Linked DNA regions of Homo sapiens: all the other regions are linked to region 1. The links are contacts of gene promoters, found by promoter capture Hi-C in blood cells and fetal thymus (Javierre and others, 2016). All regions are on one chromosome and are shown on one strand. Each heading gives the region's core, a stretch centred on a gene start or on the middle of the fragment in contact. The rest is flanking DNA. Distances are from core to core; before and after follow the strand shown. Region 1 holds the start of C11orf16 (chromosome 11 open reading frame 16). Region 2 overlaps TRIM66 (tripartite motif containing 66). Region 3 overlaps TRIM66 (tripartite motif containing 66).

Region 1 (2,759 bases), core at 194-2,693:
TGATCCACCTGCCTTGGCCTCCCAAGTGCTGGGATTACAGGCATGAGCCACCGCGCCCGGCCATGGGTCTTTCTTAGACTCTCTGTGTGCCAAATAACTCCGCCTTGGTATACGGTCCTGGGCAGCAGTCATTCTCCTGACTATGAAGTGATGCTTCGGGAGGGCAGTCATCAGTTAAGAGGCTTTTGGTTGCAAGTAAGAAACAGCCCAATCCAGAGTGGCATAATCAATAAGGGGAATTATTGGCTCACAGAGCTGAGGCCTAGAGTAGCAGCACTGCCTGCAGGCAGGACTCAGTACTGTCACCGAGAACCTATTTTCAGCTGGGCGTTGGGGTGCATGGCTGTAGTCCGAGCTCCTTGGAAGACTGAGGCAAAAGCATCCCTTGAGCCCAGGAGTTTGAGGCCAGCCTGGGCAACCCTGTCTCAAAACAAACAAACCAACCAACCCTCTATTTCCTGAGGTCTATCCTCTCTTTCTCTGGGAATAGCTTCAGTGTTCCCAAAAGGCTGTCAGAGGCTCTCAGAACTATCAGCTTTCTTATTCAGGCATAGGAAGAAAGAGAAAGCCTATATCCCAGGATTCCCAACCAAAGTCTCCAGATTCCTGCTGATTGGAGAGGTTCAGGAACACGCCACTGCCTGACCAACCCCTGGGGCCAGACGGGGATGGAAGGGGTGACTGACACCCACTCTACCCCTGGAGGTGGGTACTTTGGCCTCCCTATCCACATGGATCTGCCAACTGAAACAGGACCTGGTAGAAGCGGGGTATGAATGTGGGGGAGACACATCCAAACGTGCCTGCATACCAGGCATATAACCAGTGCACAGTGACTGGCAGAGGCCTCCAAATACGAGCCCCTCCCACAAGCAGAATCTGGACTTCTGTTCCTTTGTTGCCAGTGTCCACACCTCTCACTCCAAATGGTCACAACACCTCTGCTCCTCAACAGAGTCCTGCCTGTTATAGACAAACAGGCCCACACCTTTGGTTATTTTGGTTTAGACTAGGGACAAATTCTATCCTAGAGTCCCCAGGCCGCCAGTGGCTCCCCCATTCCTGCCTCTAGTGTGTACAGGGAGGACGCCCTCAGTTTCTGCGGAGGTGGCTCCTCCCTCACAGGAGTCTCCTGGGATCCGTGAGGGCTTCCCACCACCACTGACTCTTCCAGCAGTGGAGCAGCCTGAGCTTTGGAGAACTGAGGCTACACTGGCCTTTTTCCCTTCTTCCTCCTCCTCTTCTCTCCAAAGGGAAACCTGGAGAACACCCCCTCCCCCATCACTTCCTGCCCCACCCCTACCTCCCAAGGCCTCCTGTCCCCCTCTCCGCATGCTCGGTGCACTCACTGGCCACAGACGACAGCGTCCCCAGGCTGCACCCATGGTAACCGGCGTGGCAACCAGGAGTCGGTTGGGCTGAGACCCTGAGCCCCAACTGTCAGAAGGAGCCTGAGGCTGAGGTGGAGGCTGGGAGTTTGGGGCTGTGGGTAAGTCCTTGTGGGGTCAGACCTGTGGACTTGGGCAGGGGCAGACCCTCACGGGGCTCTGGTGGGCTGCAGCAGTGCGGCTTGATCTTGGGCCCTGGTGGCAGCTGTCTCCTCTGAACAGGGCTGGAAAGGGGATGGACGGCCCTGAGATCTCAGCTTGCCTGAGGCCAGAACTAGCCTTGTAGGTGGCCGGGGAGGAGGAAGGAGGAAAAATACTAACATAAGTTGAGCTGCTGAATACGCCAGGTGCTTTCCATGTATTCTATCCTGAGTGTAACTGGAGAGCAGAGGTTAAGTGAGCACACAGCCAGCAGGCTGTAGGGGAGGATTTAAAGCTGGGCTGCTCTAAACTCACAGCACTTGCTCTTCCAATCCCTTCCCTGTTTCCTGAGTGGAGGTTCCCAAGGCAGGTGACTCAAAGAGGAAACTGTGAGAGTTTGTGGGAGCAGGTAGGGCCGTGCATGGACTCAACTGTCCCCAGAGGCAGCTAACTGCAGAGCTGAGCCCTGCCTCGCCCCGGTGGCCACTGCTTGCTTCAAGCTGCAGCTCAGGTAATGGTGGTGCCTATTCTCAGGTGGATCCTCTGAAGGCCATGGAATCCTCCACGGGGCCCAGGATGCCTTTGCTCAAATACTGCAGCGTGGCCACAAGCCTGAAGGCCCCTGGCTGGGACGGTGCTGCTCCACCTTGGGACCTCTCCTTCACCTACCCCTTTGCCCTCCAAGCACCCTGGCTCACCGGGCACAAGCCCCTTGCAAGGTACCTGTCTCTGCCCCTCTGGGGGAAGTGGATGCCCTTTTCTTTTTCCTTTGTTCTTGGCTGTTGGTGGTAGACCTTGGTGGACAGACTTGCTTCCTGAGAAGGTGGAAAGGGGTCGTCATTGTTTGGCCTATGATTGGCATATCTGTGTGGGGTCTGTCACTCCAGCCTACATTGTGCTCCCAGAGCCCTCCAGGGTTGATCTGGCTTTAGCAGAGTTGCAGATGCTGCAGTTGGCATGAGTAAGAGAAGGCAGTTAGGGATAGCCAGTTACCAAGTTTATAGCTCATTTTACCATCAATGCTGAGACTTGGCTGGGCGCAGTGGCTCACACCTGTATACAATCCCAGCACTTTGGAAGGCCGAGGCAAGCAGATCACTTGAGGTCAGGAGTTCGAGTCCAGTCTGACCAACATGGCAAAACCCCATCTACTAAAAACACACAAAAAATTGGCTGGGCATGGTGGCTCATGCCTGTAATCCCAGCACTTTGGGAGGCCAAGGCAGGTGG
Region 2 (2,759 bases), core at 81-2,580, 300 kb after region 1:
AGTAAGCAGAGTAGAGGCAGGGAGTCAAGATTTCTATAAGGGCAGCTAACAAGGGAGAAGACAAGAAACATCACTTGGAAAAGTGCCACGGTATGAGGTCATTCACTGAAAGAACAAGCTAAGCCCTGCATTCTTAGAAGTTCCCGAAAGCATCACTGAATTACTTATTGGTTCATCCAAATTCCTTGATATCACTAAGAAATGGTCTCCTTAGCCTCCTTATGCTCTGCTTAATAAGACAGAAGAGTGTGTAAAGTGTTTTAGAAGTACTCCCATTTGAAATAATGTTTTTAAGCCAATTGCATTTTGTTATTGAAAGAGGTATGTTTCAGATAACTGGAAAGTTAATTTATGTGGAACACCACCCTATCTGCATTACTTTATCCCCAGCAATATTATCTTGCTGTAAGAACCTGAAATTTATATTAAACTCAGGGCATGTGCACTAAGTGTCTGTTTATTGATTTCTCAATCATTTCTTACTAGGGCACTAGCTTTCTAGCTTCTGGCACAGAATCAAGACTAGCCAGCCTGTTTTCAAGGCTGGTCCCAGATTCCTAGTCTTGGACCTGTATGAGCTTGGGAAATCTAGGTAATCACTCTGTGTCTCAATTTCCCTTCCTGTTAAAATGAAAGAGCAATGTTTTATCTGAATTTTGACAATACCATGTGGCAATCATTAGAATAATAATGTCAACACACTGAACTCTAGAAACACATCTGGGTGGTAAGAGTGAGGAGAGAGAGAGGGCAGCAGGTGACAGAGCACAGGTCAAGCAGAATTCAGGTTAGATGGGTGCAGGGTCACATAGGTGACTAGTAGCAGAGGTTGAAAGTCAGACAATTCAGGGAAGTCGTAGGTCAGGCAAGTTGTCAAGTTAGATGGTAAAGACAGGTAGGTTAAATAGGTTAACTGAATCCATTAAATTAATAGGTGAGGTAATTTCAGATAAGTCAGACAGGTGGCAGACAAAGATAAGGAGACAAAAAAGAGGCAAGAGGAAAGGGACAGGGACGGGGACACACAGTTTGGGGGAAGGGAAACGAGGATCGAGAGGAGATGCTAGTTAAGGGAGGTAAGAGGGGGCTCTGTAGGCTCAGGGTTGTCTCTCTCCATCTCCCAAAGATGACCTGAGCTGATTATCAGAGTGAATGTGTTTTGGCATTTTGACTCTTCCTCTCTGAACTAGAAAATAGTTTATTTTCAGTAGTGAATCTCAAAATATACCTTTTCCTTCATGAAATCTAGAGGTTTTGTATGTAAAGATGAAGTCAAGGTGTCAGTTACACAGTTGACAGCCTAGAAACCTCAGTGATAACCCTCTACGTACTTTATAGCTAGAAATACACATTCACCTCCTGTCATTTGACCTCTGAACAATCCTGGGGTCTAGAGGGTGGGTGGTATCATCTCCATTGACAAGTGAGCTCCCTTCTGCATGGGTGGCACCAAGTGTCAGACAACCTGGCCACGCTCTCAAGCCCTTTTCCAATCCCATCATGCTCTTGAGAAGTGCTTCCTCTCCTCCCAGGCCCTGGAGACTCAGCCTGCTTTCCTTGCTCTGAAGGTTGGCCCTACCCTTGCCCCCACCCATCTTGTAGCACTAGCAACAGACTAGGATGAAGGTTCTCAAATCTTCTTTTTCTTTTTGTACATGAAATAAGTACCTTTTGTTTTAATATTTTACAACCCTTCACTCTAGAGAGCCGATATAGTATAAAAATAACTAACACATAGCATATATAGGTTTCAGAAATGCCATTGTGTCTGCATAGCCTGTAAAAATGGGGTTGGGCTGGCTTTCTCACAGCACTTTCTCTGAGTCCCTTCCTCCGTGGAAATTTTCCACATTCTTGTTAATACTACCAGAGCTTCACCCCCTCTCCTGATAGCATTGGCCTCCTTGAGATTGGCTGTGGCTGTGAAAAGGAAATAAATCAGTCAAGTATGCAATATCTTGGGATGTATTGCTGACCTCGTATTGTCTTCTGGGCATTACGGGACCAGGTTCATCAGGTTCACCTCAAAATAAACTGCCATGGAGTTTCCGCAATTTTTCCACAGCTCAGTCTGCATGTCTTCCTCTCCCCTATCATTATGTTAACTCACATGTGCAATAGGTAATTAGGACAGGAGAGCCAATTTCCCACGAATATGATCTCTACCCCTAATCTGGGAAGTTTTGTCCTTGGGGATTTTATCTTGTGCATATCTTGTGACGTATGGCACCTGACCATTATTATTTGGGTGGTCTCACGTGGATTTTAGTGCTCTTAATGCTTGGCAACAAGGATCTCACTAAGAAGAGACATCTATATAATTCTCAATGTCCAGCATGGGTAGATTAAATGAGCGCCAAAACCACACTAAACATACATGTCAAATAGGGGAAAGGAGAAAGAATCCAGTGCAAAGGATTAGACTGTCATATATTGCAAAACGGAATGAAATAGTCACTGGGTGTTCTTGTTCATAGATAAGGAAATATAGAATATTAGAAAGCTATGGTAGTGCATAACCAGGACAACAAGGAGACATTAAGGAATGCAGGCCTGGGCATGTTTGAGATAGCCATTGATTTTTGGCCTTGGTCCCTTAAGCTGGGCTTCATTCCTAGCTTACCCAATTTGGTTTAAATATTCTTTCCACCTTGCTTCTCTTCAACCCTTCTTGTCTTGGCACTCAGACTGTGGAGGAAATGGAAGCTTTTTAAAAAACTGAACACTATTAAACTACTAAGGAAAATATAAAAAGCATA
Region 3 (2,759 bases), core at 124-2,623, 290 kb after region 1:
CACAGGAACCAGAGTTCATGATCCACGTGATCTAGCCTGGAGCCTGGCAAGGCTGGATAGCTGGTTTCAGCTCCATTAAAAACAGAATCCTGATTAATGAACAGGTTAAGGTTAATTGTGAAGGATTCATTATTTTGCAGGAGATCTATGTGGAGTAGTAGCAAGCGCCTTCCTCAGCCTCTGGCAGGTAGTGGGATGCTTGGGCTTGATGGTGTGCTATTTCTGGACAACTGGGCAAATCCAGCCAAGCTCAGCCCAAAATCCTCCTTGTGCCCCTGGAGAGTCATCTCCTGTTTATAACACTTCCCCCGAGCTCTGTATTTCTGCAGTGTCCTCTGAAGGCTGAGAGCTGTGCAGCAAAGCTTAACTGAGAGGTTTGTCTACCTGAGCAAGAGAAGCTCACTTTCTCTGTCTTCTCTGGCAGGAGTGAATGGTGGTCCCGGAGACTTCACCTTGTATTGTCCTCTACACACACAGGAAGTACTCAAGCTATTCTGTGAGACATGTGATATGCTCACTTGCCATAGCTGCCTAGTGGTGGAACACAAAGAACACAGGTGGGGCTGACAGACTGCCTGAAATGGGCTGGGGAGGGCTCTGGATTTCTTACTTGTGAGAGCTCTGGGAATCCCCGTGCATCAGAATCTTCTCCCTGCCCAAGCCAACCTGCAGCCCCTGGGCTGAAGTTTTTCTCTGCTCCTGTTGTAGGACTTCCCTGGAAAAGGCCTAATGGGCCAAGAGCCTGTGGTGCCTTAGACTTTCCCTAGAAGTCATCACAGCTTCCATGGGTCTGGCTGAGACAGTTCCCTGTGGAGATTCCCGCTTGGTTGGCATGCTCAAAGTAGGACTCAGCCCTTCTCAGCTTTTTCTCTGCCTCATCCCCTAGGTGCAGACATGTTGAAGAAGTTTTGCAAAACCAGAGGATGCTTCTGGAAGGTGTGACTACACAGGTGGCACATAAGAAATCCAGTCTACAGACATCTGCAAAGCAAATTGAGGACAGGTAGCACAGGCTAGTGCCTTGCCAGTGCTGGAAATGCTCTGTTCCCGCACACCCAGGGTTCCAACACCAGGCCGTCAGATGTAGTGCCTGTGAAGAGGAACTGTGGTTAAGCAGATGTGGGCATATGTCCTAGAAGGCATATGTCTTGGCCTTTGAGGTCTCAGGGCCAGGGAGGGGTCATTAAGTCATCCCTTGGTGGCTGAGACCAAGCTAGGTCAGGATGATCAGAGTGAGTCTGGGTCAAAGAATATGCCTTATGAACTAGCCAGAAGTCGGTGCTTGAGAACAAGGGTACCAAGCAGACACTAGGGAAGAGAGTGCTGCTTATTATGAGGGTGGAACAAACCAGGGGCAATCTGTGCTTTATCACCCCTTTCCCTGTGTGTTCTCTGTAAATCTACAAGTCACATGAAATCATTGGTATTTTACATAGGAAGAGGAAGTGGTAGGTGCTGAGAGCACCTCATGTGTCAGGCACTGGGTTGGGTATCATATATGCATTATTTTGTTCAGTTCTTGCCATTCTTTCAGTTAGCGATTTTCTCCATTTTACTGATGAGGAGACTGAGGTTCATAGAGGTTTGGTAACTCATCTGAGATCACACAACTAGCCAGTGACTGTGCTGGGTTTAGATGGTAGGTCTGTGGTGACTTCAATGCCCATGCTTTTTAAATTTTTAAAAATAGCTTTACTGAGATATAATCTACGTATCATAAAATTATTCTTTTTAAATGTATAATTCAGTGGCCTTTAGTATATTCACAGAATTGTGCAACTGTACATAATTACTGTCTACGTTTAAAACATTTTCATCCCCCCAAAAAGAAGCCACATTAATATAAACATTATTATATGTTTATAATAAACATTATATTATATGTTTATTGTTTATTATATAATTATATGTTTATTATTGTTTATTATATAATATGTTTATTATATAATATGTTATTATGCCAATAATATAAACATTATTAGTCACTCTCCATTCCCCCAACACCCCCCGGCCCTCAGAAACTACTGAGGCAGTATGCATTCTGCCTCTTTTTACCTCATGGCGACATTTATTGGAGCATCCTCCTTTTAAACACAACAAATTACAGTAAATTATTCCCATACTTTCTCTTTTGGTCCTACCTCTAGTGCTGTGTCAACTGGTGGGCTACTGGGTTGACCTTGGTGTAGACTTGAGGTTTACCTAGAGAAAACCAAGCTGAACTTTGATCAAGTGGGGCTTTGTACAAAAGGTGGGATGGTGGAGGAAGGCTCTCTTTTTTTTGTATTTGGTGTCTGCTAGGCCCTGATCTCAGTAGGCAGCCTCCAAGTTGGTTCTTATGTTTGCTGTCTCTTCGTCTTCATATAGTCCATGAGGAAAGCTTACCATGGTTTGTCCCATTGTGTTTACAGGATTTTTGAAGTGAAGCATCAGCATAGGAAGGTGGAAAACCAGATCAAAATGGCCAAGATGGTTCTGATGAATGAGCTGAACAAACAGGCCAATGGGCTAATAGAGGAATTAGAGGTATGTATAGACAGATGGATCAGATGGTTGGGTTCAGAAACCATCCATATATCAAGCTAGTCCCAGGACCTAGGGAAGCCTAGGCTGTAATTCAGATATGCAGCTTCCATAGCTCTGTGCTGCTCCCTGTATTTTAAAATGTCAGCCTAATTTTGGGAGGGTGGCTCATTAAGGGCTAGAAAATCAGTTCAAACTGATTTTTGATGCTATGTCTCTTAGGCAGCTTCCATCCT

What was found. Contacts are between HindIII fragments. The CHiCAGO score rates a contact against its expected background, and 5 or more counts as called.
Region 2: a contact is called between a fragment that was not itself captured here and the fragment with the promoter of C11orf16 in region 1, in 1 of 17 cell types (M1 macrophages). The highest score is 5.9, in M1 macrophages.
Region 3: a contact is called between a fragment that was not itself captured here and the fragment with the promoter of C11orf16 in region 1, in 1 of 17 cell types (M1 macrophages). The highest score is 5.1, in M1 macrophages.

The regions. Positions count from the first base shown.
Region 1 is chr11:8,931,631-8,934,389 of GRCh38, reverse strand. C11orf16 (chromosome 11 open reading frame 16) reads left to right here and starts at 1,443. Exons shown (of 7, transcript NM_020643.3): 1 at 1,443-1,489; 2 at 2,064-2,248. The coding sequence starts at 2,082. RefSeq lists an enhancer at 986-1,824. The HindIII fragment of the contact is 4,544 bases long and covers 1-2,759 here.
Region 2 is chr11:8,628,954-8,631,712 of GRCh38, reverse strand. The region is part of intron 15 of TRIM66 (tripartite motif containing 66); the gene reads left to right. Among named protein-coding and RNA genes, the nearest start is that of STK33, 36 kb to the right of the region's middle. The HindIII fragment of the contact is 2,756 bases long and covers 1-2,708 here.
Region 3 is chr11:8,646,214-8,648,972 of GRCh38, reverse strand. It overlaps TRIM66 (tripartite motif containing 66), which reads left to right. Exons shown (of 25, transcript NM_001388022.1): 9 at 425-557; 10 at 887-1,003; 11 at 2,412-2,526. Among named protein-coding and RNA genes, the nearest start is that of TRIM66, 35 kb to the left of the region's middle. The HindIII fragment of the contact is 2,018 bases long and covers 365-2,382 here.